Regions from separate parts of the Homo sapiens genome. Here region 1 is linked to region 2. Evidence: promoter capture Hi-C in 16 types of primary human blood cells and fetal thymus (Javierre and others, 2016). All regions are on one chromosome and are shown on one strand. Each heading gives the region's core, a stretch centred on a gene start or on the middle of the fragment in contact. The rest is flanking DNA. Distances are from core to core; before and after follow the strand shown.

Region 1 (4,151 bases), core at 1,465-3,964, 210 kb after region 2:
TTGAGCACACATGGAGTATTAAAAATTTTTTTTTTACCATATACTGGGCCAAAAGTATATTTCAACATATGTCAGAGAAGTGAAACCATACAGAATATGTTAATTGATTTCAATGTTATTAAGCTCAAAATAAGTAATAAAATGTAATTATATACCAATGTCTATGTAACTGTACATAATTAGTGGAAACTTAGAAAATCCCTTAAAATAAGTCATAGATTAAATAATCAAAACATACAGCCAGGCGTGGCGGCTCATGCCTGTAATCCCAACACTTTGGGAGGCCGAGGTGGGCAGATCACTTGAGGTCAGGATTTCAAGACTAGCCTGGGCAACATGGCGAAACCCTGTCTCTACTGAAAAAAAAAAAATACAAAACTTAGCTGGGTGTGGTGGCATGTGCCTGTAATCCCAGCTACTCAGCAGGCTGAAGCAGGAGAATTGCTTGGATCTGGGAGGCACTGCACTCCAGCCTGGGCAACAGTGAGACTCCATCTTAAAAAAAATTGTCATCATTATCATCATAACACAAATAAGAAATTATTTAAAACTGGATACTGAAAATACTATAAAACTTTTAGAGTAAAACTAAAGCATTTATTAGAGGAACTATATATAACCTTAAATGTATATGCTAGGGTGGGAAAAGCTAAAATTTAATAAACTAAGCTTTAATTTCAAGAACTTAGAAAAAGAACAACAAAACCAAAAGGAATTGGAGAGAAGGAAATATCAAATGATAAGAGCACATAGCATAGAAAACATATTCAGTAGAAAGGAACAACATCACGAACAGCTAGTTTTTGATACAAATAATAAAATGGGCAAACCTCAGTTGCAATTAGTCCAGAAATATAGAAGGCAAAAATAACTAGTATGCAGGAATATAAGGGAGAAAACATTACTTAATCTAATGCAAAATAAGCAGAAAGTAGTAAGCTGTATGAAAAGTTTTGAATACTTATAGAAAATGGACAAATTTCTGGGAAAAAATGTGTTACCTAACGCTGTAGGCATGGTTCAGTTTGTATCTGTCCTTCTGACCTCTCAGTCTCAAAATGAAAAGCCAAATGTATTTATGAAATTCTGCCACTAGGGGGAGTTCCTTCAGTCCCGCTCTCAGGTTCACTGTGGTTGAGTTTGTCATGATGCAAAAGTCCACTCCTTGCTGTGCCAGTTGATTGAGCAGAACCACTTGAAAACCAAGATGAAATGTTTTCCTCCTCAAGCAATGGCCATAAAGAACTGCCCATGAGGTCACACATGTGATTTCATGAAAAAATAAGGCAATATCCCAGGAGGAGTTGTAGGAATCTGGGTCACCTGCTCATGTCACTTGGTTGTGATTTCTGGACTTCTTGAAGCCCATCTTGAAGTCAGTTATATCATATCCAAATTCACTTCATAATGGATTATTGCTTCACATGCCCAACCTTTTAGCTTGATGGGTCACAGAGCACCTACTTCATGATGGGCAGTTTGTATTATATATTCGCTTCATATCCCATAGTAAGGGTATCAGTCTCTACCAAGGCCTGGTAATAAGTCAGAAGCTCTTTCTCAAGAGATCCATCATGTTCTCAAAAACAGAGCATGGCTTTGCAACAAAAGTCCTAGGGGTCTTCACTCTGGGGCACACCGACATTCTTAATTATTCCAGATAATTCAAGTATAATTTAATCTTGAGTTATAAACCTCAAGTTGTAAAGCTTCTTATACTACAGCCTGGACCTGCTGCAGAGCCTTTCCTTGAACTGAGAACAACTCCAAACTGGAAGTCTTAAGATTTACGTAGTAAGTGGGTTAGAGCATCCAATCATAGTTGTACATTTCCTCCAAAATCCAAAGGTGACTATCAAGAATTGAGCTTCTTTGGTAGGGGTAGGATGACCTCCCATTTTATCTCTGATCCTCTTTAAAGCTAATGTGCTCAACTTATCTCTAGGGATTAAGTAATGACACATTGCCTTTGACAATTCCATCATCCTGATTGAAAGCAGTGTGATTATATCCGTTGCAGTATTTCTTTCTGTCATCCCCAATAAACTGATCATAAATCTTAATCCTGTGTACAAAGCACCTTCACAGCAACACCTAGATTAACGTTTCATTGAATGTTCTGGGGACTATAACCTAGAAACATTGGCACATTAAACTGACCATCATAAGTATGTCAATATCAGAAAATATATCTTTTACCAAACAAAGTGTTAATGGAGATAAAAGGGCCAATTTTTTAAGGATTAAATATTCAATATACTAGGAAGATACATTAGAAATTTACCTGCACATGATAAAATAGCTTCAGAATATGTAAGGCAAAAATAGGCAAAGAATGGCTTCAGAATATATAAGGTGAAAAAAAATAGGCTGAACCAGGTTAGTCTTCACAGAGCTTTTCATGGACACTTGTGCTGTCTTTACCAGTATACTACTTGAGGGGTAAGAGCAGAGGAGATGAGGGTACAGGTTGAACTTTTGTCATTTTTTATTTTCCAACATTTTTAACTCTCTAAACCTTTGGGTTATTTTTTCTCCATTATGCCAAGAAAGTTCTGACATCATCCTCGTTAAATTTGGGTCATTGTTGAGTCCATTTTCATTGGAATATAGTGATAATATTGTTTCAATCAAACATAAAGCAAATTCCTTCATCCACCTGAGAGCTTCTTGAGCCAAAACATTGTATCTGTAATCTTTTGTTAGTACACCCGTATCAATATATTTGGCTAAGCCAGTGTAATATTTTATCTTTGTTGGTCTAAGATTCCTAGTGTCCACTTTAACATATATTTCTCAGGTGTCTGCTGATATAAATCAGAGAATCCAATAATTCCTTTAGAATGTAAGATCTTCTCAAGGGTCGGGCATTGCATTTACCCCATGGAAGAGACTTGCATTTTATTCTTGGTCTGGAATGAATAGTGATTGGGATGAGTTTTGAAGAGACTCAGCACCTTCCTGTGCTTGGGCAATCTCTCCAAGCAGAATTATTAGAGTCTTCCAGTAAGGAAAGACTAATCTCTCCAGACCAAGGAAATCAGGCTATATTCTGGTATCAAGAGAGTTTCAAAAAGTCTTGGGGCAAGGGGGTTGAAGATTTTCGACTTTATCCAAAGACCATGCATAGGGGTCATCCACATGTTCTTGGGTACTTGATCTTCATGCAAGACCCCTTTCCAAGCCCAAGCCCCTCAGTCCTTTCCAATAACTGCCCTAAATTTCCTATAAGAAGCGCAGACAAATCTTTAAATTCAAATTATGTCGTAATTCTTCAATAAATACAATTAAATTTGGGGTCTGATTTTTTTTTTTTTGCAAGATTGTCCCCATAGTCAAATGACATGAAATTGTTTGAAGTCATAAGGCATTTCTGTAGTTTACAACCATAACTTGACCTACAAGGTAAGACCTGAGCTTGGCACTTGCCCTTTGCAGGTTTTCCAGCAGAGTTAGGAGCAGAGAGTTTACCACACAGTCTTTGTGGTCATTAATGCTCACACAGCAGTGAATAGCATCGCCATTCGATCCTTCAAGGCATTTGCTTAATAGCCACTCAATCATAGGTAATTAATTAATCATGATGGCACTGTATGTGGAATTCTACGAAACATTTAAAGGAGAAATAATATCAAACTTTCCCAGACTCCCTCAGTAAATAGAGAAGGAGAAAACACTCATTTCATGAGGCAAAATTCAAACCTGATACCAAAGCTTCATGAGGACGTTACAAGAAAAGAAAACTGCAGATCACTGCACCTCATGAACATAGAAAAGTCTTCATTTAAATATAAGTAAATCCAATCCAACAAATAAAATTGACGTAATACATGATGACCAAGTGGGGTTTCACATCCAAAAATAAATGTAATTCACCACGCTACCAGAATAAAAGAGAAACATCAAATGTGCCTCTTGATTACTCCAGAAATAACGCTGGGCAGAATTTAAAACACATTTATAATTTAAAACAATCTCAACAAATTAGGACTAGAAGAGAAAAACTTCGATTTGATTAAGAGCATCTAAAAACCTGCAATTAGCATCATACGTAATAAAGAAATATTGAACACTTTTTCCCCTAAGATTGGGAGAAAGGAAGGAATATCTGCCCTATTATTTCTATTCGACATTGTAGTATAGGTCCTAGC
Region 2 (4,126 bases), core at 816-3,315:
GACAGGCTGGAAGAGATGGAACTGCAGGGAGAGACGAAGATGTAGAAACAGAGAAATGGAGAGAAACTGAATGAGAGAGACAGAGACAGAGAAACACATACAGAGATAGAGCCTTACAAAGAGATAGGTGCGGTGGCTCACGCCTGTAATCCCAACACTTTGGAAGGCCAAGGCAGATGGATCACTTGAGGTCAGGAGTTGGAGACCAGCCTGGCCTACATAGTGAAACCCCATCTCTACTAAAAATACAAAAAATTAGCCAGGTGTGGTGGTGGGCGCTTGTAGTTCCAGCTACTCGGGAGGCTAAGGCAGGAGAATCGCTTGAACCCGGGAGGCGGAGGTTGCAGTGAGCCGAGCTCACGCCACTGCACTCCAGCCTAGGTGAGAGAGTGAGACTCCGTCTCAAAAAAAAAAAAAAAAAAAGAGAGAGATGGGGATGCAGAGAGACGGAAGGAGGATAGAGACAGAGCTAGAGAGGGAGGGAGATAGAGGGAAAAAGAGACAGAGAGAAAGAGACACACACACATGGACACACAGTGAGAAAGTCAGGGAGAGGCACTCAGAAAGAAAGAGAGCCACACAAGAAGAAAGTCAGGGAGACTTCAGAAATGCAAAGGGACAGACACTCCCAGGTAAAAGCAGAGAGAGAATGGCTGTGAGGGGGGATGAGGAGGAGAAACAGACAGGAATACACAGAGGCAGAGACCCAAATAGAGGGACCGAGAAACAGAGATGGGGTGACAGATACAAAATGACAGAGATTTGGGGAGGGACAGACGAGGAGAGAGAAGCACGGGGGAATTTCTCTCTGCTGCTCCATGTCTTTCAGCCTGTCCTGGAGCTGGCCCGTGCCAGACACCAAAGGTCGTTGGAGTCACAGGCAGGGAGAAAAGAACGAGGCAGCTACCGAGGCAGCTACCAAGGCCGAAAGTGAGACATCAATAGTTCACAGTAAGAGGAGCAGAGAGAAGAACAGAATTAGATACAGATAGTTTTTTTAAAAAATTCATGGAAAGAAGGGCATGTAAACAGACATTTATCACAGATCTGGTCCTGAGGGGCTGGGGTTCGGGCACCCCAGGTCCCGCATCTCTTTTCACCCTTCCTCTGACTCAGTTTCCCTGATGGGTGACAGCACTGACAGACCCCGGCTGGCTCCCCAGGGTCAGCTGACCGACAACTCTCTGTGTTCATCCCTGAGTCCCTGGGGATACAAATCCCAGCGCCCCAGCTCTCCACCCCAGACCCTGGTGCACACACGCAGACCCACGTCAGTTAGGCGCTGAATGGACAGATGTTCACTCACAGCTCCGGTTCCAGGCAGCCGTGCCTCGGGCCAGCGTACACACAGGCACACCCACAGCACGCACGTGTGTGAGTTTCGTTCCATCTGCCAGTTGCTGAGACATGTCCCTGGGGGGCCCAACCCAGAGATGGATTCTGGGGACAGGAGAGGCGGCTGTGGGGAGAAGCAGGGCGGGGGTGACTGGGGAAGGTGAGAAGGGGGAGGTGGGGAGAGCTTTAAAGCAAGAAGAGAAAGAAATGAGGGTGAGAGGAGGCAAGAGAAGTGGAGAGGAAGAAAGGGATGGAGAGAAAGACAGAAACTTGGAGAAATGTGGTAATGGGGAGAGAGATGAGGGTACCAACAAAGAGATGAGGAGAAATAGTGGGTTAGGGAGAAAGAAAGGGATGGAGGGAAATACAGGGATAGGGGATGGGGGGATGAGGGGAACCCCCAAAATGCAAGTGAGGTGGAAGAGAAAAATCAGGGGAGACAAGGGACGAGAGGGGGGAGGAAGAGAGAAGAAGACATAGAGGAGGGAGGGAGAGGAGGGGGAGTGATGGCAGAGAGGACTAGAGGAGGGGCGCGGGTAGACATGGGGGCCTGGGAAGGGAGGCCCGTCTGGCTGAGGGGGGTGGGAGTAATAGCGGGAAGCGGGTGGAGCTGCCCGGCTGGGCCGTGACCTCAGAGCCCCTGGCCCAGCTTAGCCTGACTGACGTCAGCGCTCGCTCCCGCCCCCGCCTGCGCTGGTCTTCAAATGACCCCCCTCCAGCTCTCTGGCCACAGAGAGGCTGGGAGAGCAAGCCGGAGAGAAGAGAGAGCCCGGCCAGACCCACTGCGATGAGACAGGTGTGTGTGTGTGTGTGTGTGTGTGTGTGTGTGTGTGTGTATACAGCCATGTGGGGAAAACTACTGCCATATGTGTGACCACGTGTGTTGGGGAACTGTGTGTGCATGATTTCATGTGTGTATCCATGTGCCTGACAGTGACCATATGTGTGTAGGGGACAGTGAGCATGTGAGGCTGAGTGTGCAGGTCTGTGTATACATTGCCCTGTGTGAGCGGCCATCCCAAGTACATGTAGGTGAGACGTGCCATGTCCGTATTTCTGTATCTGCGTATCTTGCTACAAACTTGTGTATGTCTATGTTCCCTGGGAGGCAGAGAGAAAGAGGGAGTGCGACAGTGAGCGAATGAAAGAGACTGAGTGAGAAAGAGAGTTGGATTTGCCTGTGGCACATGGGAATGGATTTCTGTTTCATGCGTTCAATAGCTATTAAGTTGAACCAAATGAAATCGCCGATACTGAGCCACTCTAAACTTGGAAGAATAGCAATTTCATCTGGTTCAGTATCAGCTTGACAGTCACCTACTATTTCTCTTGAAATCTTCCCTGTGCATCCCATTGCCCCAGACTCTCAGTTGGGGCTCTGTGTGTTTGTGGCCACGTGGACATCCTTTGCTGGTGTTGCTTTTTCCTGCTGAGGGGTGTGTGTCTGCAGGTTCACCTGTGTGGCCGTCGGTGGGGGTCACGGGATCGCTGTGTTTGGCCTGAGTGGGTGTCTCGGGTCATCCTGTAGAACACGAGTAATTTCATTCTGTGTGTCACTCATCATGTGTGAGTTCACGTGTGGGGGAGTGTGTCTACACGTGTGTTCATCTGTGTTTCTGGAATCAACTCTCTGGATCCCCAGCATGAATTGAGCCATCCCTAGGAACTCAGGCAAGGCCAGGTTTGAAGCAAAGGAAGAGAGAAGGGGGATTCGAGAAGAAAGAATAATGTTTAATGTTGAGAGTTTAAAAGCTGTACCTCAGTTTTGTCCTCTAGAAATGTAACGAAAACCACAATATCTAATTTAAAATTTTCTTGTGGCCACATTTGAAAAAGTAAAAACAAACAGGTGAAATTAATTTTAATAATATATTTTTATTTAACCCAGTGTGTCAGGGGCCAGCACATTTTTTTAAATAAAGGGCCCAATATTAAATATTTGAGGCTTTTGGGGGCCATCTGGTCTCTTTTGAAAGTACTCAACTTCGATGTGGTAAATGTAGAATCAGCCACAGATGATGTATAAACAAATGAATGTGGTTGTATGCAAATAAAACTTCCTTTAAGGACACTGAAATTTGAATTTCATATTTTTCATGCTCCACAAACTATTATTCTTCTTTTGGCTTTCAAAAACCATCTAAAAACACACACACAAATTCTTAGCCTGCAGGCTGCAGCAGGTCTTAGCATGCCGACCCCTGCTACATATAAGATATGATCATTTCAATATGTAATCAATACATAAATGTTAATGAGCTATTTTACTTTCTTTTCCCCAGACTTGGCCTTCAAAATCCAGTGTGTTCATAGCACTTCTCACTTAGATGCTACCTTTTCACTGGAAATACCTAATCTGTGTTTAGATTTTATAAGATTTACAATTATAAAAGGGGCATCGTAGATGCAACTTGTTCCAGACATATTTAAAATCTTTCCAATAACCGAATCAAGTAAGAGTTTTTAAATTTAAATGAATTAAAATTAAATAAAATTTAAAACTCAGTTCCTCGGTGATACTGGCTGCATTTCAAGTACTCGGTAGACACATGTGGCTGCTGACACCTGTGTTGGACACAAAGATCTACATCTTAACGACGCATTTAAATAACCCACAGTAAGCCTTGAGGCAGGAACTGGTGGCATAGGAGGCAGTTTAGCGTAGAGGGGACGCCAGAGCCAGACTGCCTGAGTTTTACTTCTGACTCTGCTTATTACCTGAGTGACCTTGGGTAAAAGTATTTGCCTCTCAGTGTCTCAGTTTCCTCATCTGTAACAGAAGACAGTGAAG

What was found. The method cuts DNA at HindIII sites, captures the fragments that hold promoters and counts their contacts. A CHiCAGO score of 5 or more calls a contact.
Region 1: a fragment that was not itself captured here is called in contact with the fragment with the promoter of HAS1 in region 2 in 1 of 17 cell types (monocytes); the score reaches 6.5 in monocytes.

What each region holds. Positions count from the first base shown.
Region 1 is chr19:51,512,030-51,516,180 of GRCh38, reverse strand. No RefSeq gene overlaps it. Among named protein-coding and RNA genes, the nearest start is that of SIGLEC12, 12 kb to the right of the region's middle. The HindIII fragment of the contact is 2,005 bases long and covers 1,712-3,716 here.
Region 2 is chr19:51,721,930-51,726,055 of GRCh38, reverse strand. It overlaps HAS1 (hyaluronan synthase 1), which reads left to right and starts at 2,065. Exons shown (of 5, transcript NM_001297436.2): 1 at 2,065-2,131. The coding sequence starts at 2,123. The HindIII fragment of the contact is 33,518 bases long and covers 1-4,126 here.